Regions from separate parts of the Homo sapiens genome. Here regions 1, 3, 4, 5, 6 and 7 are each linked to region 2. The links are contacts of gene promoters, found by promoter capture Hi-C in blood cells and fetal thymus (Javierre and others, 2016). All regions are on one chromosome and are shown on one strand. Each heading gives the region's core, a stretch centred on a gene start or on the middle of the fragment in contact. The rest is flanking DNA. Distances are from core to core; before and after follow the strand shown.

The links. The method cuts DNA at HindIII sites, captures the fragments that hold promoters and counts their contacts. A CHiCAGO score of 5 or more calls a contact.
Region 1: a contact is called between a fragment that was not itself captured here and the fragment with the promoter of ADRA1B in region 2, in 7 of 17 cell types (M1 macrophages, endothelial precursors, M2 macrophages and 4 more). The highest score is 11.2, in M1 macrophages.
Region 3: a fragment that was not itself captured here is called in contact with the fragment with the promoter of ADRA1B in region 2 in 6 of 17 cell types (M0 macrophages, M1 macrophages, megakaryocytes and 3 more); the score reaches 7.3 in M0 macrophages.
Region 4: a fragment that was not itself captured here is called in contact with the fragment with the promoter of ADRA1B in region 2 in 6 of 17 cell types (M2 macrophages, endothelial precursors, M0 macrophages and 3 more); the score reaches 17.3 in M2 macrophages.
Region 5: a fragment that was not itself captured here is called in contact with the fragment with the promoter of ADRA1B in region 2 in 8 of 17 cell types (megakaryocytes, M2 macrophages, M1 macrophages and 5 more); the score reaches 12.5 in megakaryocytes.
Region 6: a fragment that was not itself captured here is called in contact with the fragment with the promoter of ADRA1B in region 2 in 1 of 17 cell types (M2 macrophages); the score reaches 5.1 in M2 macrophages.
Region 7: a fragment that was not itself captured here is called in contact with the fragment with the promoter of ADRA1B in region 2 in 3 of 17 cell types (megakaryocytes, M0 macrophages and endothelial precursors); the score reaches 6.5 in megakaryocytes.

Annotation. Positions count from the first base shown.
Region 1 is chr5:159,547,912-159,551,115 of GRCh38, reverse strand. All of the region lies in intron 2 of LOC105377684 (a long non-coding RNA gene), which reads right to left. Among named protein-coding and RNA genes, the nearest start is that of LINC01845, 83 kb to the right of the region's middle. The HindIII fragment of the contact is 1,473 bases long and covers 887-2,359 here.
Region 2 is chr5:159,914,550-159,918,084 of GRCh38, reverse strand. It overlaps ADRA1B (adrenoceptor alpha 1B), which reads right to left and starts at 1,603. Exons shown (of 2, transcript NM_000679.4): 1 at 231-1,603. The coding sequence starts at 1,179. RefSeq lists enhancers at 413-1,029, 1,030-1,646 and a silencer at 1,710-1,769. The HindIII fragment of the contact is 3,740 bases long and covers 1-3,343 here.
Region 3 is chr5:159,474,700-159,478,163 of GRCh38, reverse strand. No RefSeq gene overlaps it. Among named protein-coding and RNA genes, the nearest start is that of LINC01845, 10 kb to the right of the region's middle. The HindIII fragment of the contact is 875 bases long and covers 1,269-2,143 here.
Region 4 is chr5:159,529,176-159,532,409 of GRCh38, reverse strand. All of the region lies in intron 2 of LOC105377684 (a long non-coding RNA gene), which reads right to left. Among named protein-coding and RNA genes, the nearest start is that of LINC01845, 65 kb to the right of the region's middle. The HindIII fragment of the contact is 5,826 bases long and covers 1-3,234 here.
Region 5 is chr5:159,493,822-159,496,981 of GRCh38, reverse strand. No RefSeq gene overlaps it. Among named protein-coding and RNA genes, the nearest start is that of LINC01845, 29 kb to the right of the region's middle. The HindIII fragment of the contact is 2,908 bases long and covers 392-3,160 here.
Region 6 is chr5:159,413,607-159,416,959 of GRCh38, reverse strand. No RefSeq gene overlaps it. Among named protein-coding and RNA genes, the nearest start is that of LINC01845, 51 kb to the left of the region's middle. The HindIII fragment of the contact is 5,285 bases long and covers 1-3,353 here.
Region 7 is chr5:159,563,715-159,567,065 of GRCh38, reverse strand. All of the region lies in intron 4 of LOC105377684 (a long non-coding RNA gene), which reads right to left. Among named protein-coding and RNA genes, the nearest start is that of LINC01845, 99 kb to the right of the region's middle. The HindIII fragment of the contact is 1,241 bases long and covers 856-2,096 here.

The DNA of each region.
Region 1 (3,204 bases), core at 374-2,873, 370 kb after region 2:
GGAAGTGGAGCAACAGGAACGCTCATATTCAGCTCCTGGGAATGATGATTGGAACAGCTGCTCTGGAATGCAAATTGGCATTATCTTGTAAAGATAAGGAAATGCATATCTCATTACCTAGCAATTCTATTTTTGGCATATTCTCTAGGGAAATTGTTGCAAATGTGCACGAAGAAACATATAACATATAAAGAACATACAAGAATGTTCATAGCTGCATTGTTTATTATGGCAAGAAACTGAAAACAAATCAAATGCCAATTAAAAGATTAAATAAGCTTTGGCATAATCATAGAACAGAATAAAAATAACTAAAGTGCTATCAATTAACATGGATCTGGTGTCTTGAAGGGTTGGGTATACACTTCTAAGTAAGATCTTTCTTCTAAGGCCTCTAAGATCTTCTCATCTCTAATGTGAAGCAATCCTAGATATTACTAACCCATTGTTAGTGTAACCTTTATTCATTCAGCAACTATTTACAGACCATCCATATGCCAGATATTCTGATAGATGCTGAGGATGCTGTGACAAACCAGATATTGCCCCTGTCCTTACAGTGTGGTAGAAGAGACAATGTTAAACAATCAAATAAACAAATAGAGATGTATAAATGGTGAAAAGAACAGGATGCTATGAGAACACAATGGAGGAGGAACATAGCTTAGACGGAATAGGGAGGACTATAAAGGGTTACAAAAGTCCTCTCTGTAGAAGGGACAATTAAATTGAGGTCTGTGAAGTTAGCCAGGAAAGGAGAAAAGAACATATGAGGTAGAGGGAACAGCCCTGCAAGGACTCTGAGCATGCAAACAGCTTAACCTGCTCAGAGGGATGGAGAGGAGCTCATTGTGGCTGCAGCATGGTGCATTCACACTGGAAAGCTTGTTTGCAATGAGGGAAAAGTCTGAGTTCATCCTTCCACCCAATTTTCAAGATGGTTGACAAGCAAGCCAGAATGATGTATGAAATCTAAATGTCAAAATAAAATGAACTGGATTTAACCCACAGGCTTTCACTGTATTAACATGACATTCTACTAAACTACCAATCAGTTAGAAGGAAGAGAATATTAAGCTCAAATATTCCCCTTCTGCCTACGCTGAAGGACCAGAGGTTAAGTCCAGACATTCAGAGGATCAGAGTTCATTACCCAAAATATCTTCAGATATTAAAGCTAGACAAATTCATGCGAGCTACTCAGCTCCATGCAAGAAAGTATTATAACCATTCAATGATGGCTTTTCTTGTGGTTTCCAATTCACAAATTGTTTCCTCTCTATGCCATTTCCATATATCTATATATGGGTGTATGTGTGTGTATATGTACTCACACATATACATATACCACATAGACACACAAATATTTCAGAATCTAACTTAAAAGTTTTCTGTCCTTGCTGTTTGATCCTTGGTGCCTTGGCCAGAAACCCCAACTAAGCATAGCTCATATGCTACAGTTAAACTTTTTAAAATTTTCATCTCTTAGGTAATTATGAATGGGACAGCAACAGGGGCTCCTGCAATAGCCCACCAGAGGCTTCACAATTGGCATCAACACTTTTTAGGGACAGGCAAGCAGTATTTTAATTTCAATAATGGTTTTTGCCAAAAGCCCTCTATAACTAATTTTGCAGTCAGAGTCCACAAGACCTATTTAGTGTTTGGCTAAATCTCATGGAACATCTCGTTTCCCTTCAGTTTTTCATTAGTTTGGATTAAAAATAAAAAAGCTAACAAACATGGTTTGCATGAATGTTTCCAAATTACACCACACCAGCATTTTCAGAGGTGACCTCACTCCCTTTTCTCCTCATCTGAAACCCCTTAATATCCACAGTCAGTTTGGCAATGCCATCTCCATGCCCTGGAAGAATGTGGCCTGACCTTGCTCCCAGCAAAAGATGTGGAGAATGGCTTGTTCCTTACCACACAGACACTTGGTTTTTATAGTTGCTGTCATCTTTGCAGCTTTTTGATTTGCCAAGAGCTCAGCAAGGAGCATAACCTCATACCAAATAGGTCCCATTTAAGAGCTCTAAATGAAACTAGCAAGCAAAGAGGGGTGGGGTTCAGGAGATGCATGCAGAATGAAAGCATCCTGGAACTATGGGCAGATGAATTATCTTGCAGGATCCACAACTGAGACAGGTGTCTGCAAAATTTTCCATGAAAAAAGGTTGAAAATACTGCATAATCTGCTTTTATGATCTAAGTGCAAGTGATTGTGCTAGGCACTGGCATTACTTTGAATGAAGAGGTGAGTTATTGCTTGCAATTATTCACCACCCACATTCACCCATTGCTGTGTAACTTGTGCTTTCTGGGGATTACTTTGGGCTTGGCCACGTGTCAAGCTTTGGTCAATACAATTAGAACAGGCACGATATGAGCCACATGTAGGCAGAAGCTTTAAGAGGCATTGCCAGTTTCTGTAGATGTTTTGCTTCTCCCCCTCTTCCCTGAGAACTGCATGTCCCAGACAAAGGCTGTTCTCTCCACCAGACCTAGAATGAGAAGACACATGGAACAGAATGCTGCCCAGAACAGAACCACAGCCGACCTGCAGGGGAGCATGAGTGTTACAGGGATGAAAAAATAAATGCTTGTTGCTGAAAGCCTCTGAGATGATTGGGTAGTTTATTAGGTTAGCAAGCCTGATTAATGCACTTATTAATGCAGCAAAACAGACTTGATCACTTCTCTTATGGACCTGATGGTCTAGCCAGGGGAGGCACACAATAAACATATGAGCCAACTAATAATTATTGTAACTACTTATTTTTACATTAGGCAACATCTAATTATGTAACATCTCTTCCATTTACACCAACTCCTCTTCCTCATCCAACCACATGTGGCCCTGAGCCTGCCTTCTTCTGGCTACATTCTCTGAATTGACAACTCCATCTATTCCTATAACTTCCAGAAGCACCTCTCTTCAAATGCCCCTCAAATCTACTTCAGTGGATGACATCCAGACAGAAGACCTCATCCAGCCAGGCACAGCTGGCTTATGACCTCTGGCCTAAACAGACAAGACTTGTGAAAAATTAAAACCACAATTTTGTACCCACAAGATTAGCAAATGTTAAAAAATCCGATCAAATCAAATGTTGCCAAGGAAGTAGAGCAACAGGAACACTCATACTTGGCTGCTGGGAGTGATGATTGGAACAGCTGCTCTGGAAAACAAATTGGCAT
Region 2 (3,535 bases), core at 354-2,853:
TGGTTCTATTTCCAGAAGCTAGTGCCTTAGCGTGTTCTACTAACACCTGAGTTGGTTTTTAGCCAGCTCCCCAATCTGCAAACCCTTTGCAGAACAAACAATATTATTCAATCTCCGAACACGCACAGACTGCATAAGAAACAAAACCCACAAAAAACTTTAGAGTAAGCTCATCAGTAAACCCAAGGTCCAAAAATGCCCAGTCCCCCTGCTGCTAGTCCCCAACTTACCAAGCGGTAGAGCGATGAAGAAGGGTAGCCAGCACAAGATGAACATACCGACCACAATGCCCAACGTCTTAGCTGCTTTCTTTTCCCTGGAGAACTTAAAAAGTTTGACAGCTATGGAACTCCTGGGGTTGTGGCCCTTGGCCTTGGTACTGCTAAGGGTGTCCTCGTGAAAGTTCTTGGAATGGATCCTCAGGGTCAGCTCCTTGGAGTTGGACATCTCCTTCATGACTCCTGCCTCTAGGTTCTTGGTGGTTCTCTTGGCCACTATATAGACACGGCAGTACATGACTAGAATGACCGCCAGAGGGATGTAGAAGGAGCCCAGAGAGGAGAAGAGGGCATAGAAGGGTTCTTCGGTGACCCCGCACTCCTTGTCATCGTTGGGTGCCGGCTCCTTCCACCCAAGGAGAGGCCCGATGGAGATGACGGTGGACAAGACCCAGACACTGAGCAGCGCCAAGATGGCCTTCCTCCGGGTGACCAGCGTGGGATACTGCAGAGAGTAGCGCACCCCGATGTAGCGATCGATGGAGATGGCGCACAGGCTCAGAATGGACGCTGTGCAGCACAGGACATCCACGGCTGCCCAGATGTCACAGAAGATCCGCCCCAGCACCCAGTAGCCGAGCACCTCTAGGGCCGCTGAGAAGGGCAGGACGGTGAAGCTCAACAGCAGGTCGGCCATGGCCAGGTTGACAATGAAGTAGTTGGTGGGCGTCCGCAGGTGCCGGTTGCAGGCCACAGACAAGATGACTAGGATGTTGCCCACGATGGCAAAGAGGATGAAGGCGCCCAGCACCAGGCCCACAGAGATGGCCCTGGTGATGTCCAGCTGGGGCAGTGTGGAGTTGCTCGAGGTCTGGTTGGGGCCAGTGAAGTTGGCATTTTTCAACTCTCCCCAGTGGGCAGGTGCTGATGTGTTGTGGCCGGTGTCCAGGTCGGGATTCATCTTAGAGTCCGCCCTCCATAGCCAGGGGGATGATTGGGCTCGGAAGGGCTGCGGCGAAGGCTCCTCAGCTGCCCTGAAACTTTGCTTCCCCCGTGGTCTTCTTCCCAGAGGCGCCCTCCTGGCGAGGAGTCATCTCCCCCGGGCAGCCCAGCCCGGCAGCACGTCTCCTGCCTGCACCGAGTCGCTCGCTCGCCTGTCAGAGGGAGGAGGAGGAGGAGAGGGGACGAGGCGGCAGCTCCAAGTTTAATGGTCCACGTCAGGCGCGCCTGGCCGGGCTCGCGGGGGAGCGGCGGGGAGGAGGGGGCGGCAGGGCCGGGGGCGCCCGGCGGTGCCCAGCTCGCTCGGGTCTGCGGACCGCGGCGCGTCCTCCGCCCAGCGAGCGCCGAAGAGGGTCTGCTTTCAATGAGCCGCTTCTGGGCTGACTGCACGGCGGTGACATCAGGCGGGGGAGCCCGGCGCCCTGACTCCGCGCGGCACTAGGGGGCAATGCGGGTCCAGCCAAGGCGCCCGCAGCCCCGACGCCGCCACCCCGCAAGCCGGGAAGCCAGCCGCGTCCCCCGCCGCTCCCAGGGCGCGCCCTCTGCGGGGGGCGGGGCGGGGGCAGGGGCCGCGAGGGCGGGACCTGGGCGTGGAGATCGCGGGTCACCCACCCCTAGGCGGCCCGCTGGGGTTATTTTCCCCGCTAGTCACTCTTCCGTGTCAAAGGTGGGTTGGGGGCTGCTTACCTTTAATAGGGGGCTCCCGGAGTGGGCCCCGGATTTAACGGGATATGCAACTTGTCCAGCACCTAAAAGAGGGAAAGAGAATTCTAGGATTGGGCAGGTGGGAGGGACTTGAGTCGGATCTGAGGCCAGCCCTCATCCTTCATCTGGCTCCCCTCGCCCCGTGCAAACTCTTTGGCCCCAGTAAAATCTGGCTTCTCTTCATCCTTTCATTCGCTCAGGCATTCACTCATTTATTCAGCCGATTCTTACGGAGTCTCCACTCTCTGCCCTGGCTCTGGGCGCTGTGAACATAGCAACTGAACAAAATAGACGGACTCCTGCCCTATAGGAGCGTAGCTTCTCCCGACAGAAGACAGACAGTATACTAAATAAGCAAATGATGAGGTGTGTAATGTGATGACAGGTGTTAGGCTGAAAATAAAGTAAGGAGGGGGAAATGCAGTGGGGTGTTTGTGGGGTGGATTTGAAATGTTAAGTGGGTGCTTGGGATGTCACTGAAGTGATATTTGAGGAAACATGAAGGGAATTGAGGGAGGAAGCTAGCTGGCTATCTGGGAGTGGGGGTGAGGGAGGTCAGAGACCTGGGGAAGGGACGTAGAGGATCTTGGTTATTTGTTGAGTTTTTTCCTTTCTGTCTGATATCCATGTTGGACATTCAGTCACAGGGACGCACTCCCAAAGGTGGGTGAATGGTACTTAGAAGAGAAAGTATGGGCCAAGAAAGAAAGAAAGAAAAAGCCAAAGAACTTTATGTTAGTTCACATTTATCCAACATTTATTTTGTCCTAGACAGTGTGCTGAGTTCTTTTTGCATTTTCTCATGACTCTCATGAGAGAAAGAATACACTCTTCACCATTTCTATTTCATGGATGAGACACCAAATTATGGGGAAGTTTAGCTGTTCGCCCAAGTTCACAAAGGCATGGAGGAGAGCTGCTGGGAACTGAACTCAACTGTGGGGTCTCTCCCAAAGTTGGGTACTCAGCTACTGTGTCATACTTTTCCCCCGGGGCAAGGTAGGGGATGGAACCACTGTTATAGATGGAGCTGCCTTTTGAGTAGTTAATTTTGGGGCCTGAGCCACTGGTGCTGGGCAGGGACTCCCATGAATTGAGCGCTTACTGATAGCCATGCATTTACTCAGTTTCTTTGAGACTTTACAATTCTTTGAGAGAAGCATAACCATTGTTCATTGAGAGATGAGAAACAGTGGTTCAGAGAGAGTCAGTTGATTCCTGAGGTCATAGGCTAGCAAATATATGGCAGAGCAATGGGCAGTGGCAGCTGGAGATTGAAAAGTAAAGCCTGATACCTTCTTTTACTCCAGTTCACAAGCCTGCATCTTGGGTTTCTCACCTTCTGCTCTTGATACTTGTTATAACTTGATATTCACGGGTGGGGAAAACAGAAGTCACTCAGGATGACTTACATCTAAGCTTCTCAACCTAGAGGTAAGCTCTTAACCTCTTTTTATTTTTATTTTTTGAGAAGGGAGGCAGGTGGTTATCATACACGTATCGAAGGTTTTAATTTACTCCCAGCAAAGTGCACAGACTCCACACATGTGCAAAATACACAATTTCAGGGGGTTTCCCTCGGGTTAAGAAATCTGTGGTAGAGACAGTCCTGA
Region 3 (3,464 bases), core at 457-2,956, 440 kb after region 2:
GAACACAATTTGCATAGTACTATCTAATCATGGGAAAATTAAAAATTATATTTCTGTTATACTACACATAGAAAACAAAGTCCAAAAGAATATTCACTAGACTATTTACAATTAATATGCAGACAGTGAGATTAGAAGATGCTTTTATTTCCCTTTGTTAAACTTAAGTTTAAATTTATCAGAGTAATTTGTATAAAACATCTTTTTAAAAATCAGATAGTTCTACAAGGTTTATACTGGAAAAACAAGATTTCTCATTATTTCTCTTTGTAACCCTTATCTTCTCTCTAGGGCCAATCACTTTCAGCTTTGGGATATTTCTCTTGGTTATTTCCTTCCATATATAAAAATAATGTTTGTAAACCAGTACGTTCTGATTTTTGCATTTCATACCTCATTGATTGACTTTCTACTCTGGTCTTAACATTCCCACACAGATCCCCTTCCTACATACCCTTCCTCTCTCTCTGTTCTCCTAACACATTTATATCATGCTTTTGTTAAGTATTTTTAAAAATACTTAAATGTCCAATACTAGCATTACTAACATTGTAACTAAATTTTCAACATCACCATTCCCAATACTGTAACTATGTATTACTCACTGAAGTGACTATACTATGACTTTATTTTCTTTCTTGTACAACTTTGTGGTTTTTTTCTGGAATTGTCTTTGTTTTTGCTGTCATTGGGATTAACATTATTTTTTGCTTAGTTTTCTGTGTGCCTGTCACTAATTTATCCCCCCAACTCTCCCATGGAGCCCTAAGAATTTCTCTCAATATACCTGAATCCATTAGTAGTCTCTCAGTTCCACTCTTCTTAGGAACATCCACCGTGGAGACTTCCACCTTTTCCCTTCAACCTGTAATGGGTTTCTAGACCTGCCAAACAGCTGTCATTGTGGGCCATCTTTCACCATCAGCCTGGGAATTCCCTTCAGCTCTCTCCTGTATTGGATCCCCCACTTCCAGTATCCCATGATTTTCTATTTGTTGTTTTATTCTCTCAATATGGTTGAACACAAACTGAGAAGAGTTACCATGAGATGTAACATTTTTAAAACCTTACATGTTGGAAAGCATCTTTTAATCCTAACACTTGATTCACAGTTTATCTGGAAAAGCAATTCTAGAATGAAAGTCATTTTCCCTTAGTAATAGAAGGGCACTTCATTGACTTCTAACTTCCAAGGTAGCTGTTTAAAAGTCTCATGCCATTCTGATTTCTCTTTTCTGTATATGACCTATTTCTTCTCTCTGAAAGCTTTAAAACCTCTATTTCTGGCATTCTGGAATTTAACAATATTGTGCTTTGTGAGGGCCCTTTAAATGTCATTGTTTTGAACAGTTTGGTTGATGCTTTCCAGCTAGAAACTCACGTCCATCTGTTGTTGAATATGTTTATTATTTCTTAGGTATTATTTTTTCATTTTGGTTTTTTATTCCCTTTTTTAGAATTTTTATTAAGTAAATGAAAGACCTCCTACATACATCTCCTCTGTTTTCTCTTTGTCTTCTAGCTTTTCTCTCCTCTTTTCTACCTACTTTCAATATTTCCTCTACTTTATCACACAGATCTTTTATTGAAACTTCTATTCTTGTTACCATATTTTTAACTCTCAAGAAGCTCAGTATAAGTAACATCAGCAAAATGGTGAAATAGGAGTTTTCTACGATTATCTCCCCACAGAGCATCACTTTTGACAACGACTAATGGATCATACTACCTTTGTGGGAGTCTGAGAATCCAGCAAAGAAGTTCCAACACACTTTTGGGGAAAAAAAATCTGAGAAAAGCACACTAAAGAGGGTAAGAAAAAAAATTTCACTATACCCATGTCACTCCTCTCCTAGGACAGTACAGCTCAGTACAAAGAGAGAATCTCTCAGCCTGTGATTTCTCCCATGAGAGAAACTGAGAACATAGGAAGTGAGTACCTGGCTTCCCCAGTCATGTGGAATGCTGCCCAAGAGGGCTGCACCTTTCTTTTGCCACTCAAAGTACCATGGTGGTTGGTAGAGCTCAGCAGTTAGGAGAGATTGCGAGTAGAGAAGAGAAGAGACTCATAGCAACCAATACTCAGTATTCAGAAAAGGGATGCAGTTTTTATTAACTGCTTCATGAACTTCATCAGGAAGCTTGTCCAAAACTACTTGGGACAACACACATGCAGACTCCCCAGCTGGCCCACAGGCCTCTGCAATGTTATGCATGCCTCACATATCTCCCCTACCCCCATGCCAGCTTCCCACTTGTGGCCTCATGGACTGAAAGTGTGCATCTCAGCAGGAGGTTTACAAGTACATGCAGACAGACAGCCTGACTTGGCAAGATAGGAAAAAAGTACACAAAGTTGAGTATTTCAGGGCACCATCTTGGGAAAACAAATGAGAGGATCTCAGCACCTGGCTTGGCTCTGCAGGACCAAGAGAAGGCAGAGAATCTTAATAATTCACCCCCCAAGACAGAACAAGAGGTGTGGAGGGGGAATATTCATATAAAAGTTAGGAGAGAGTCTCAGAATCCCTAGTCAGACTGACTGGTGAAGGTGTTTCTCTCTCAAAGCTGGTCAGTAAAGACTAGAGGAGGTAATTGCTTCTTCAAATGCAAAGACAGCAAGGTAACACTTCAGGGAACACAGAAAATAATTGTGACACTAACAAAGGACCATGACACCAACAAAGGAACAATTTTTCAGTAACCACTCCCAAAGGAATGGAGATCTATGAATTCCCTGAAAAAGAATTTGATATAATTGTTTAAAGGAAGCTCAGTGAGCTAGAAGAGAATAACCCTTCTCTTTGTTGAGATAGATAACTCAACATTATCAGAAAAACAACACATGAACAAAACAATGAACTCAACAAAAAGAAATGATTAAAAAAACAATTCTGGAACTGAACAATACAATGAATGAAGTGAAAAATGCAATAGAGGCCTTCAACAGTAGACTCAATCAAGCAGAAAATAAAGAATCTATGAACTCAAAGACAGGTCATTTGAAATTATCCTGTCACAAAAGAAAAAAGAATGAGAAAGAGAAAAGAGAGCCTACAGAATTTGTGGGATGCCATTAAGAGAATTGCTAGAGATGCTCCTTGACTTAGAATGGGGTTATGTCTCAATAAACCCATCATAAGTTGAAAATATCATAAGTCAAAAATGCATTTAATACACCTGACCTACCTAACATCATAGCTCAGTCAGTCTATCTTAAACATGCTCAGAACACTTACAGTAGCCTAAACCTGGGCAAAATTATCTAACAAAAAGCCTATTTTATAATAAAGTGCTGAATATCTCATGTCATTTATTAAATATTGTACTGAAAGTGAAAAACAGAATGATTATATGGGTACTTGAAGCATGGTTTCTACTGAATGTGTATCGCTTTCATGGCATCATAAAGTTGAAAAGTTTTAAGTTGGACCACTGTAAGTTGAGAACCATGTGTTCCATAA
Region 4 (3,234 bases), core at 581-3,080, 390 kb after region 2:
TGAAACGAAACAGAAATTTGTAACCAGTCATTGACATAACCACATAGAGAAGAACTTCTCAAAGTGCTTTAAAGTGCTTCAGCTCTGCTTCAAAGCACAGTTATGTGACTGTACATCCCTACTAAGATATAGCATAAGAAAAAAAGAGAACTGGAGAAAACAAATTATTTATAATAATTATACTAATGGTGGTAGTGTTAGTATTGTTAGCCTGAGATGGTTGTGAATGTAGTTTGGGATAAATCAAATGAATCATTTTGTGGGTGTCATTGAAAACCAGGAATTTCAACATGGGAGAAAGGAAACATGTATATATATATATATATATATATATATATATGATAGATGATGGTAGCTAAAATCCTGGAATTCTGAATTTCAATAAAAACTACTTGTATGATGCATATCAGTACAGGAAAGGCCTAGCAACAGCAATCCAGAAGCACTGAGCACTCCTTGTGCCTAGTTTGCTATCTATAAATACCACTTCTTGCTAAAAGAAGTCCAGGATCCTTGGCAAAGTGACTCATTTCATGTCTGGGGCAGGTAATGTGCAAAATGAGCCTGGAGAATCTGTCATATCAAAAAGCAAGGAAACTATAAAAAATTACTAGGATTCTGTCAAATGAACTCAGGAGCCAATATGAAGAGACTCCTACTGGCCAAAAATGAGATAATTTGAGAATTAATAACTTACAAATGATATCTAGTATGTTTAAATCCATGATATTTAAAAACATCCATAGTCACCCTTAGAAGTTGCTGCAGAACCAGCACATTATTTAGAGAACTGGTGAAAAAAAAAAAAGAAGGTAAAGGGTAAAGAATTGAATATTAATCATGTTTTTCTATGAGAATTATGCCTCAGCATAATCATGAGAGAAAGTTTCTCTGTAGAGAAGCATTCTACCTAATTAACAAAAAAAGGCAGAATATAGAATTAGTCTATCACCATTTTGCAATTCCTAATGAATTAATGCACCTAAGCAATGACCAGTGACTGCTCACATTTCAGAGAGGGACAATCAAATACAGTGTGCCTTCTGCTAGATAAAGAGAGCACCACCGATGAAGTAGCCTTGCCAAAAGAAATTGATAGTGAATTTAATCAAAATTCAACATCCAACTACTGATTGACAGAAAACACAGGGGACCAGGAATCTGTTAAATATCACCACAAAGATGTCATCAGCAAGATCAAGATGTGGGAAACTCTGCAGGACAACCCACCCAGTTTCTTTTCCAAAATACTGGTGAGGAAAATTATTTAAAGAGAGAAATGAGACAGAACCTGTAGATTACAAGGGACCTAAGAGATGCAGTAATCAATTACAACGTACGGGCCTTGTGTGGACCCTGACTCAAATGAACAAACAAAAACAAATAACAACATCTTTTTATAAGACAAGTAGGGAAAAGTGAACAAACATCTATTATATTATTTTTTTGATGATATCAAATAATCATATAATGTATGATGCATCATAATTACAAATCCATTTGTAATTATTAATATTTTTAAGTGTGATAATGCCATGACTGTGCTTTTTTTTTTTCAAGAGCGCCTATCTTTTAAAAAATAAAACTAAGATATTTACCTACGAAGTTATATGCTGTCTAGGATTTGCTTCATAGTAATGCAGGGGGAGAGAGGTTGGGGAAACAGATGACGTAAGACTGGCCGTGAGCTGATAATTGTTGGAGCTGATGGTAAAATGGTAACTTTCACTAGTTTACTTATAGATAAGTTTGATATTTTCTCCAATAGAAAGGGTAAAAGCAAAACTCTCACAGTGCCACTGATGGAGAATCCTAGATGCATGGCCCTTGTTTGTGTGGCCACCTTGGGACGGCATAGGCTGATAAAGAAACCGTGGTCTCCTCTCCTCGATCCCGTTCACAGCCATTGATCTCCAGAGGAGTCATGGTCTCTCTCCTCCCCCAGGGTACAAGCAGTGCAAAATGAGAGGCCTGAGAGCAAGCACCAACATTATATTCTCAGCTGCAGAAATCAATATTCCTCTTCAGAGCCTGAGGTGGGAGAAGGCGCCTGGCACCTAGTCTGAACTGCAGCTCTGAGGGCAAAAAGCGAGTTGTGTTGGCCTCACTTTCTTTGCCTTTCCTTGAGAGTGCTACAGATTCCCTTTCAGAGCTCAGATGCCCGCAGGTTGGTGTAGACTACTTATAGATTTCCACAGGCTCCCAGGGCCGGAGGGGCTGACAGGCGTGGAACTGGCCACAGCACAGGGCCATTTCTTTCCCAGTCTTGATAGATCTCCTCAGAGTTTTCTCCATCTCCATATTCATCGCCACCACCTGTGTGGTCTACTGCAGAGTGTCCTAGCCAATCTCCCTCCTCCTTTCGTTCTCTGCTCCTCCCAGCTACTACCTAGCCCTCCGAACCATTTGATTCTCCACATTGTAGTCAAGGTGACTTTTTCAGAGCCCAAAACTTATTAAACCAACCTGCTCTGGCTTCAAACCCATTGCTCTGAGGCTGAAGACTCAGATACTCAATGTGGTTTCAAAGATCTATACCATCTACCCTTCACTGGCCTTATCCCACACTACAACCCTCCATTTTCTTTGTTCCCCAGTCCCTTGTCTTTCTTGTCACAGAGTTTTTCTCATGCCATCATTTATTCATTTAGCAAATATTAGTCAAGGATCTACCATGTGCTAGGCATACATACAACTTAAATAACTTTACTGATTCTTCAGATGTCAGCCCTAGTGCTCCTTTATCAGGTAACTCTCCTCGACATTCTTGATTATGACTTTGTTCCCCTGTTTTATGCTCTTCTGGCATTGAGCATATCCCTTTGTAGTCCTTCTACTTACACTTTTAGTGGTGTGGATAATTGATTTCTTCTTCCCCCCACTAAACTATAAGCTCATGGGAGCAAAGATTATGTATGATTCTGTTCACCATTCATATCCCCAGGCACCTAGCACTGTGCCTGGCACACAGTAGATTTTGGTAGACTAAAGCTGGCTGCACATTTTTTTCAACTCGTCATCAAAGGATGGAGTCTATTTTGCTTCCCCTTGAATCTGGGGTGGCTCCATGACTTGTTTTGATCACTAGAATACTACAGAAATGACACTGTGCAACTCCTGAGGATGGGCCTTAAAAGACCTGTAACCTCTGCCTCTGCCTTGGCCACTTACAGAGTTTCTTTCAGGAATCTAGCAGACATCCTGTGAGGAAGCCCAAACAGCTCTGTGGAGGGA
Region 5 (3,160 bases), core at 596-3,095, 420 kb after region 2:
CAGGGCTGCTTAGCTGCTTAGCCAGTCAGAAAGAGACCTAGGACTAAAACCTAGGTTTATTTCAACACCCCGCCTCATTGCAATGCAGTTTTCTCCCTCTGTATCAGTCAGAGTTCTCCAGAGAAAACAATCAATAGAATAAAATAGAATATATATATATAGAGAGAGAGATTTATTTTCAGAAACTGGCTGACACAAATGTGGCAGCTGGTAAGTCCCAAACCTGTAGGGCAGGCCAGGAAGCTGGAAATTCAAGTAAGAGTTGATGTTGCAGTGTTGAGTCTGAAATCCATAGGACAGGCCAGCAGGTTGGAAACTTGGGCAGGATTTCTAGGCTACAGTCTTAATGCTGAATTTCTTCTCTAGAAAACTTCAGGTTTTGTTCTAAGCTTTCAACTGATTGGATGGGGTTCACCTACAATACGGAGGGTAATCTGCTTTACTTAAAGTTAAATGATTGCAGATGTTAATCACATCTACAAAATACCTTCACAGAGACATCTAGACTAGTATTTGACTAAACCACTGGGTACTGTGGTTGAGCTAAGTCGACACATACAATAAACCTCCTTAGGACATTTTCGTACATCATTGCACTTAAACCGCATAATACCCTGCGAAGGAGGTTGTTGACATTATCGCCATTTTACAGATGAGAAAACCAAAGCTCAAGAGAAAAAGTTACCCACCTGATCTCGCACAGCTCAGGTATCTGAGCCAGGAAACTGCCTCATATTACAGAGACTTCTCAGGGTCCTAAGGATAAAGTATTGACACCTGCATTTGGCATAAACCTATCACAGCTTACACACACTGCAGTGCTCTTCAGCCAGCATTCAAGCAGTTCTTCAGTTACTTAGAGATACCTCTCTGGGCCTTCTTCAAGTCAATTAAGGGATAGGAGTAGGCTCTTTCTGGAAGGATACACGCAAAACATGGAAGGTAAACCAGGTGGCTGGGCGGCAAGGGAAGGGAAAGGACTTTTTACTATATATTCTTTTGTGCCTTTGAAAATGTGAAACATGTGAAAGTGTTGGTTATTAAGTTAATGAAATTAAAATAAAACAATAAATGAATGAATTAATTAAAAGGAACCTACAAGGATCTCAGACTTATGAACACATCATTGCACTTTACTTTGGACACAAGAAAGATGAGGCAGATGCAGCAGCCACCATGTTGGTCAACACTCAGCTCTCAGTGACTTTTGGCTTCTTTCAAAAATCAAAACCACCCCCAAAGAATGAGGATTCGCCACCAATGAGCATATTCAAAGAACGTGCTTCAGGCTCTGAAAAAAATTTCAAGAGGAGTTTGAAAATCCTTTTGAGCCAAAGCAGTATCACTGGAGAAAGTAAACATTACCCTCAAGGTGATGCTTTAAGGAAGAACTCACTAGACTGTATTACTTCCAGTTTCATTCTTTTTCTTTTCTTTTTTGCTTTCTCCCTTTTTTAATCCATCACTGTTTTCCGTGATGCTTCTTTCTCTTTTTTCCCTTCATCCTTGACTCTCTTTCTCTCTCTCTCCCTATCTCCATCTCTCTCTCCTTCCCCTTCTGCCTCCCTCCCTATTCTTCTGCTTATAGCCTCAGGACTTTTTAGGAAATCATTCTCAGTCATGTGGTTTGGATGGGACTACACTTCCTGCTCCAGGATTGGATTATGTGATCCAGGCCTATCCAATCTTTGTAGTTTCACCCTCTTGGCTACAGTGATTGGTTTGGGGATGAGCACATGAGATAAGATGGTACAATCAGAGTGAATACAGGGATTTATGTCGCAGCTTCAGGAAGACAACCCTCTTTTCCACTAGACTTGGACATGAAAGATGCAGACATGGAGACATTGGCAGCCCTCTTGCTGCAATGCTAAGACTGAGAATGAAGGCCAGACAACTGAAATGGAGAGAGACTGGATTTGAAGTCTCTCTCCATTTGAATTGTTTTGTCATGTAAGATAATTAATTTCCTATTTTGCTAAAGTCATCTTGAATTGAGGTTTCTGTCATTTATAACAAAAATCATTTCAATGAATACTATCTGCCAGCAGCAATGTGTACCTCAGATTTGAAAGAAATCTCAGTCTTCCTAAACTCCCCATGAAAATGCAAATACTTTTGACAGAAAGACTTACATAAGCAGTAGAATTTAAGAATTATAAACATAGAGTAGCCTCAAAAATTTCCTTTGGGAAACCACTAATGGTTTTCAAGTTTTATTTCAATAACAGAACCCTTTTTCAAAGAAAATCATACACAGAACTCTAATATATACATATGTCTTCCATGCCAGTTCCACTGTGTAAACTTGTCATGGGAGTTTTGTTAGTTACATATTGTGTCCGCTGACTAGAGCGCTTTTCCTACTCACTGTTTCCCCAATTCACCCTAAGCCAGTTTGCTAAACAAACTCCTATTGCTCTCTGGATAATTCAAATTAAATGTCACTTTAAGATGTCTTCTCTGATGTCTAGGGTTCAGTGCCCCTGCAATGTGCCCCCACATTACTCTGTCCTCTCCCCCATAGCACATAAAACACACAGGCACAATCTCTCATGTCCTGATCTGCCTGCCCACCTGGGAGTCAGCTCTGGGGGTACAAATTTGGTCTTATGCATTGTTGTGTATGACATATGTCATGCCTATAAGTATGTGCTGAATAGTGACATTAATGAGTAAATAAACAAATAAACAAATGGGATTGTGCGCCCCTGATGTAGAAGCCATCTGCTTCTTCAGATCTGAGTTCATAGTTTAACCTCAACTCAGAGGCTGAGGGATAGGGAGGCAGAGTGACACACAGTCTTCCCTCCTTTCCCCACAAACTATCCTTCCCCACTGGCCTTTCTTTGTTTTTAATGATCCTACTTTACAACTTTGTATCTTTGAGTTAAGGGATAGCAGTCACTTCTCAAAGTATGAGTACACTTTGAGTGAGTGACATCAAATCCTGCTAGAATGTAAGCTCCATGAAAGCAAGGATTTGTTTCTCTGTGTTGTACACTGATGTATTTTTTTTACACTGAACAGTGCCTGGCATATAATAGGGACTCTATAAATATTTGTTAAACAGATGAATGAATCAGAGGGCATTCAAGTCAGAAGAGAACTTGAAGAGTAGATGGTTTAATAATTTCCAAAAGACTGTGTTCTGAAGGAC
Region 6 (3,353 bases), core at 119-2,618, 500 kb after region 2:
TCACTTTACCCTATGGATTCGCCTCAAATTCTTTCTTCTATGAAATCCAAGAACCCTCTCTTGGGGTCTGGATTGGGACCTCCTTCCAGCAACATAAGCACTAGAGAAAAACCTCTAATTTTAGTTGGTCTGGTGAGTTACTCCAACCTTCTCCCTGTAACCAGTTGCAGAAATAAACTCCCTTCTTTCCCAGTCTGTCTGCATCTCCTTATTGGACCGCGAGAACAGACAGCAGGACCTCGTTCTGTCCGGGAACAGTGTGGCTCATTATACTGTTTAAATATTTACTATCTGGCCCTTACAAAAAAGTTTACCAACCTGTAGCTAATCTATGCTTCTCAAACAACAAGATCCAGGCTGAGATCCAAGCGGGAGATATCTGAATCCACATGGTCAACGTTGTGTATCTTCTTGGAGCATCAATTTTACTAGAAGACTAGGAAGAAAAAATAGTTAACAGACTATACATGTAGACATTTAATAGACATTAAAGCAAACACATTTATATTATGGAGTAGAATCCAACATTTTGAATGAAATTATGAGTTAAAATTCCAAATGTGACCAAAATTTCAAGCATAGGGAGGCCTCTACACATTGTTTCTGTTCCTTTACTGTTAAAAATATTTTTGTATAGCCGGGCACGGTGGCGGATCACCTGAGGTCAGGAGTTTGAGAACAGCCTGGCCAACATGGTGAAACCCCCTCTCTACTAAAAATACAAAAATTATCGGGGGGTGGTGGTGTGCGCCTGTAATCCCAGCTACTCGGGAGGCTGAGGCAGGAGTATCGCGGAGGTTGCAGGGAGCCGAGATCACGTCACTGCACTCCAGCCTGGGGGACAAGAGTGAGACTTCTGTCTCAAAAATAATAATAATAATAATAATAATACATAAGTGAAATATTTTTGTATAAAATTTTAGAAAACACCCATGTATGCTATTTAATTTGTGGTGGAAGTGTTGCAGAATTTTGCTCCTTAGTTCAACTAAAACCGGGTTCTTGTCACACAACCAGGAAGAATGAGGCGCGCGGACATACTGAAGGGTGCTTAGAGAGGAATTTGTTGGGCAAAAAGGAAAAAAGGAAAAAGAAACTCTCAGCAAAGCAAGAAGGAATTCTGCCAGTGGGCTCCCATCTCACAGCCTGAACACCAGGCCACCACACAGAAACTGAAGAGGCCAGACTCCTCCCTCCTGCAAAGAGTGTGAACTCCCCCTGGTTCCACCCCGTTCTCCCAGTGAGCAGGCCAGTCGGAGATTCTCCGGGGACCCCTTTTTATCTGCCTAGGAATTTGGCCATCTCAGAAGTACATTTCTTCTGAGTCTTTGTATTCTTGCCACTTCTGGCACGGTGCTTGACTATAAGAACTCCAGAAGGGCTGGCATTATTTATTAACATAAATCCTAAAAGGTCTTTACCCGTCAGAACGGCTTAGAGGAGTTCCGCATGTAGGCGGAGAGATACACCAGATGACTCTGCCTGCAGAGGTCTCATACTCTGTGGCTTATTAGTGCCTGTATTGTCACTATGGCAACAAAAAGTCTAATAAGATCTAGTTAAATTAATAATATTCATAGCAATGTCATCACTAATATAAAATTCAAATTAGTTCTTCCTGAGCTGAAAACAGAAACAATCTTTATATGAATGAACTAGTGATAACCTCGCTGTTTTGTTTTTTGTTTTTTGTTTTATTTGCCTTTTTCTTTTCCTTTAACTGATTTATGTATTTTGTAGGAGAATGGAGATATTAGAAAGTTTACCGTGTCCTTGACTACCGGCCCAACCACTATTACCATCCCACCCCATATCTCTCATCCCAAAGCATCTCCCTGACTTCTGAGGTCTGAACAATCAGTTGCAACAGTGACCACTGGGTTTTGTTGTCTGTTGTTATCTTTGTTTTGTTTTTGAATGCAAATGTGCCTAGGAAAGGATAACATGTAAAGTTACCAATCTCTTCTTAAGACTCGGCAGATGGCTTTGGCATTGGTTGAGGATGGGGTGAAGAAAGGCAGTCCCAGCCTCTGAATCAGAGTCAGGTCTGAGGCCAAACCCCCAATTCTGCCATTGACTTGCTGAGCTACTCTCAGTAATTACTTGCCACTGCTGCACCTTCATTTTTCTTTCCTGTAATATAAAAGCTGGAAACTAGGTGTTCTCCAAGAGCTTTTCCAGCTGTAAAATTCTACAGTTCAAGGCAGCATAATTAATGGAAAAATCAAGGGCACAACCACACGGATAAAAATTCAGAAAGATAAACCTTTGGGAGGCTGAGGCGGGCGGATCACGAGGTCAGGAGATCGAGACCATCCTGGCTAACACGGTGAAACCCCTTCTCTACTAAAAATACAGAAAATTAGCGGGCGTGGAGGCGGGCGCCTGTAGTCCCAGCTACTCGGAAGGCTGAGGCAAGAGAATGGCGTGAACCTGGGGGGCGGAGCTTGCAGTGAGCCGAGATGGCACCACTGCACTGCAGCCTGGGCGACAGAGCGAGAATCTGTCTCAAAATAAATAAATAAATAAAATAAACCTGATTGGAAAAGGTTACAGAATCACTTGTACAGCATAAAACCACTTTAACTTTTTAATTTAATTTTTGGAATAGGTAACATAGTCCATCCACATGGGCTATCTCAAAAAAAATTAAGAAATATATTTAAAAATCTTCTCCCATACCTCATACCGCCCCTCTTTCCACATCCCACATGCAAAACTGCTATTAGGTTTTGCATGTAAACTTTCAGTTTCTTTATGCATATGCAAAAAAAAATTAATACATAGGCTTATTTTCCCCTTCATTAGCACAAAATACAGCATGCTATATATATTCTTCTGCATCTTGCTTTTTTTTCCACTTCACATGTATTTGAAAACTTTCCATATTAGTACAGAGAGTGCCTTCATTCTCATTTACAACTGCATATGATTCCGTTACAACGATGCACCATACTTATTTAATCACTCCCTGTTAATGAATATGTGAACTATTTCTGGTCTTTTTATTACAAGCAATACTGCAATGAATAACCTTGAACACATGCAGTTTTGAACATGTGTAAACATATACTTATCTATAGATAAATTATAAGAAATGGGATTTCTTTTATAATTTTGTGCATTTGCCATTTGCTTTTTTTTTTTTTTTTTTGAGGCAGTTTCTCACTCTGTTGCCGAGGCTGGAGTGCAGTGGATCAATCATAGGTCATTGCAGGCTCAAACTCCTGGATTCAATCAATCCTCCCACCTCAGCCTCCCAAAAGTACCAGGACTATAGGCATGAGCCACCACACCTAGATTTGTGCATTTGCATTTTTGTTATATGTTGTCAAATTGCCCTCTACAGAGAT
Region 7 (3,351 bases), core at 227-2,726, 350 kb after region 2:
AAAAGGAAAAATCAACAAAGTGTAGTTATGCACATGGAAGACCATATGCTTCATAAAACTGCATATGTGCTGTGTTTAAGATGTAAAGGAAGATATGCAAAAAGCCACCTGCCAACTTCCCAATCCACCTCGATTAAAAAACTCAGAAAGCCCATGTTCATAGTCAAAACCTACAGTGATGCCTTAAATTTCACAGACTGTTAAACCTGAAAGTTGAAAGTGCTATTCAAGGTTGCAAATACCAGTTCCCACAGGGCTGCAGGCAGGTAACAGAAATGAGTGAAGTGGGCCAGAAGGGATGGTCGGTGTAGAAATGGGAGTGAGGACCTTGCCTTTAGACAATTGTTGCCAAACGAAAACACAAAGAAAGCTAGAAATCCACATTATTTTATGAATTTTCCTCAATTTTTCAATGTTATTGAATTATTCAGATTTAGTCTAAAACATTCTGTAAACAATATACTCCACTAAGATTTGATCCAAGGGCTTCCAGTGTGAGACTTCTATTCTAGAAAAATTTCACTGTTAATTTTTTTTTTTTTTAAGACAGCATCTCACTCTGTCACCCAGGCTGGAGTACAGTGGCACAATCATGGCTCACTGCAACCTTGACCTCCCCAGGTGCATGCGATTCTCCTATTTCAGCCTCCCGAGTAGCTGTGACTACAGGTGTGTGCCACCAGGCCTGGTTAATTTTTGTATTCTTTTGGTAGAGACAGGGTCTTGGCATGTTGCCCAGGCTGGTCTCAAACTCCTGCGCTCAAGTGATCCACCCACTTCGACCTCCCAAAGTGCTAGGATTACAGGCATGAGCCACCATGCCCAGCCTCATTCTTAATTAATAATATAGAAGCTTGAGTAAACAAAGACACTTTCTCAAAGTCACACTGATTGTAAATACCAAAGGTGTCACCAGGGCTCAGCTCTTCTAACTTTTAGCCTGCTATTTTCCTCCTAACTCTGGTTTTGCACAACCTGCTTTAACTTGCAAGGTTTTATATACAGGTATTCAGATGGTCAATTTCATTGTGCTTTTGTCCCGACTGTTTTTCGTTTACCCTTCAAGATCCATTCTGCACCCTTCTTGATCTGTGTTTCAGGAGGCTGGCCTGTGTAGACTAGGTCAAAGAACTTCTTTGCTCTCTGGCTTTTAGCTGAGTCTGGCCAATGGGAGGTCTCAACAGGAGTTCAGAGGGAAGGTAGGTGGAGAGTGAAAATGGTGTGCTTATTCTCCTTGCTTCTTTCCTATTTCCTTCCATTAAGGGCTTCTCCGTGGGGCTTATTTCTCGGAGTTTCAGTAATGGCACCCTCTCCTTGCCCCTTCAGACTTGAGGATAGTAATGGAGCAAAAGTTTACGATGTGGGTCTCCACACGCTGCTCTGCCTGCCTGAGTGGGAGCTGCAAGTTAGTCCTGACTTCTGTCGGCCGTTTCCCTCCCAGAGTTGGTAGTAGTGGCTCCCTGTGGTTAGGTCCAGGGCGCTGTATTGTTCCTTGCTGGTTTCCCCAAATTCTGTCCACACGTTTGTAAACGGTCTCTTCATTAAAACCTCTTTGGTTACCCAGTGGAAGTAACATGACCACCACATGCTTTGCCTAATGAGAGTCTCCCTTAGTATTGAGAATCTTGTCTCCTGAGAAATCCCTCCGTGCTGGGCAAACCAACTTATGCATGAGTCCTATTTATATATTTCTTTTGAATTTTCTGCTTCTTGTATCATACTACTTCTTCTATCTTTAATAATTTTAAATGCTCTTATTTTATAGTCTCATAAAGATATTTCTATTATTTCGAATCTTTAAGGTGCTAATTATCCTTTTGAAGCATTTAGTATCTTCCTTATGATGGTAAATTTCTGGGTGTGAGTACTTCATGCCCTGATTTGTAAAAATGTCCCAACAATTCAGTTTCACAATTTCCCCTATTATATCCTAGGGGTTTCATAGACTTAGGCAATCTATGCTAACTTATCACTGGTATACATTTAGATACCATGCCCATATGTGGCCCAGACCTGGGGTTTTGATTTTTTGGACACAGCTTCTTTTTCTTTTTTTTTTTTTTTTTTTAACTGGGGTTCTAGATGGGTGGCAAGCTTACTTGCTTCTTTCCTGGACTCAGATGTGGAGTTTTTGTAGTCACCATCCCACGGACAATGCAACTTTTCAAGGCTCATGGCTTTATGCTGAAGCTTAGTTCTATTTTCCCTACCTAGCAAGGGCTTGAGGCCACATTTCCTGTACCCCAGTGGGTGTTAAATCCCCAACCTTCAGCTCTTAGGGCTTATATCTGGGTCAGAAAATTTTGCTGAAATACCAACTCTCCATTACTGCCCTGGCTTTGATTTCTCTCTTCAATTCTTGTACCTGGGGATTTTTTTTTTCTTTTATGCCGGAATATTTTTAAAAATTCTATTTCTATTTTTTATTCATCCTTTGTACAAGTTTGCTCTGCCATATTATCAGAACCAAAGATCACTTTGAAACACTGAAGTTCATGTCCAGCATAAAGTTGAGGTAAACTATGTGTTCCTGCTTCTGTCTTGCATAGTCACTAACAAAATCCAGCTGACAAATTAAGGCCAAAATAGAGCGAGTCTGAGGGGCCCAGACTTGGATACCTAACGGAGTGTGAGTCATTTCGGATATTAATCTAGCCTCATTTACAGTGATTGGCACCAGGAGGCAAGGTGGAAATGAAATATTCATTGCCCATTCAATATTACCTAATTTGTATGTCTAAGTGTTGACAAAAGAGAAGCCTTTGCTGTCTACTTTATGAGTAATTGTAAATTAATATGCAACCCTGCACCCATTCCAGGGAGAAGAGAATCACTTGGATTTGCCAACTGTTCAACAGCACGGCCTGGTTTTATCTGCAGATGTCACCCATCCCACCTCCCACTGTTGGAAACCAGTGGGAACAGAGAGACTTCCTAAGAGAAGTGCCTTTGGATAATGTCATAGAATCTTGAATCTAAGAATCTTAAATAATCCAGATTAAAAGCAACATTAAATATTATGTTTCAACTTAATAAATGAGGAAGATGAGGCACAACTTGTATTTCAGGTACAGATATTTCCTCAAATTCTTCCAAGCACTTTTGCAGCACTGCCAAACATTGTCATTTTGCTCCTGCAATTATTTTCTTGTTATGAGGCTTGCTGTTATTTTTTTTTCACTTGAAAAGTTGTATGGAACAGATCTTTGGATGTTCAATACCTACACAGATATAGTAGGCAGGACTGGAGTGCTACATCCATCAGCATGACTTACTGCCCAAACACGGCTGCTTTTTCTTCATTTGCTTAATACATTGGGCCCTGAGTTCTTCATGTGCTTAATACATTGG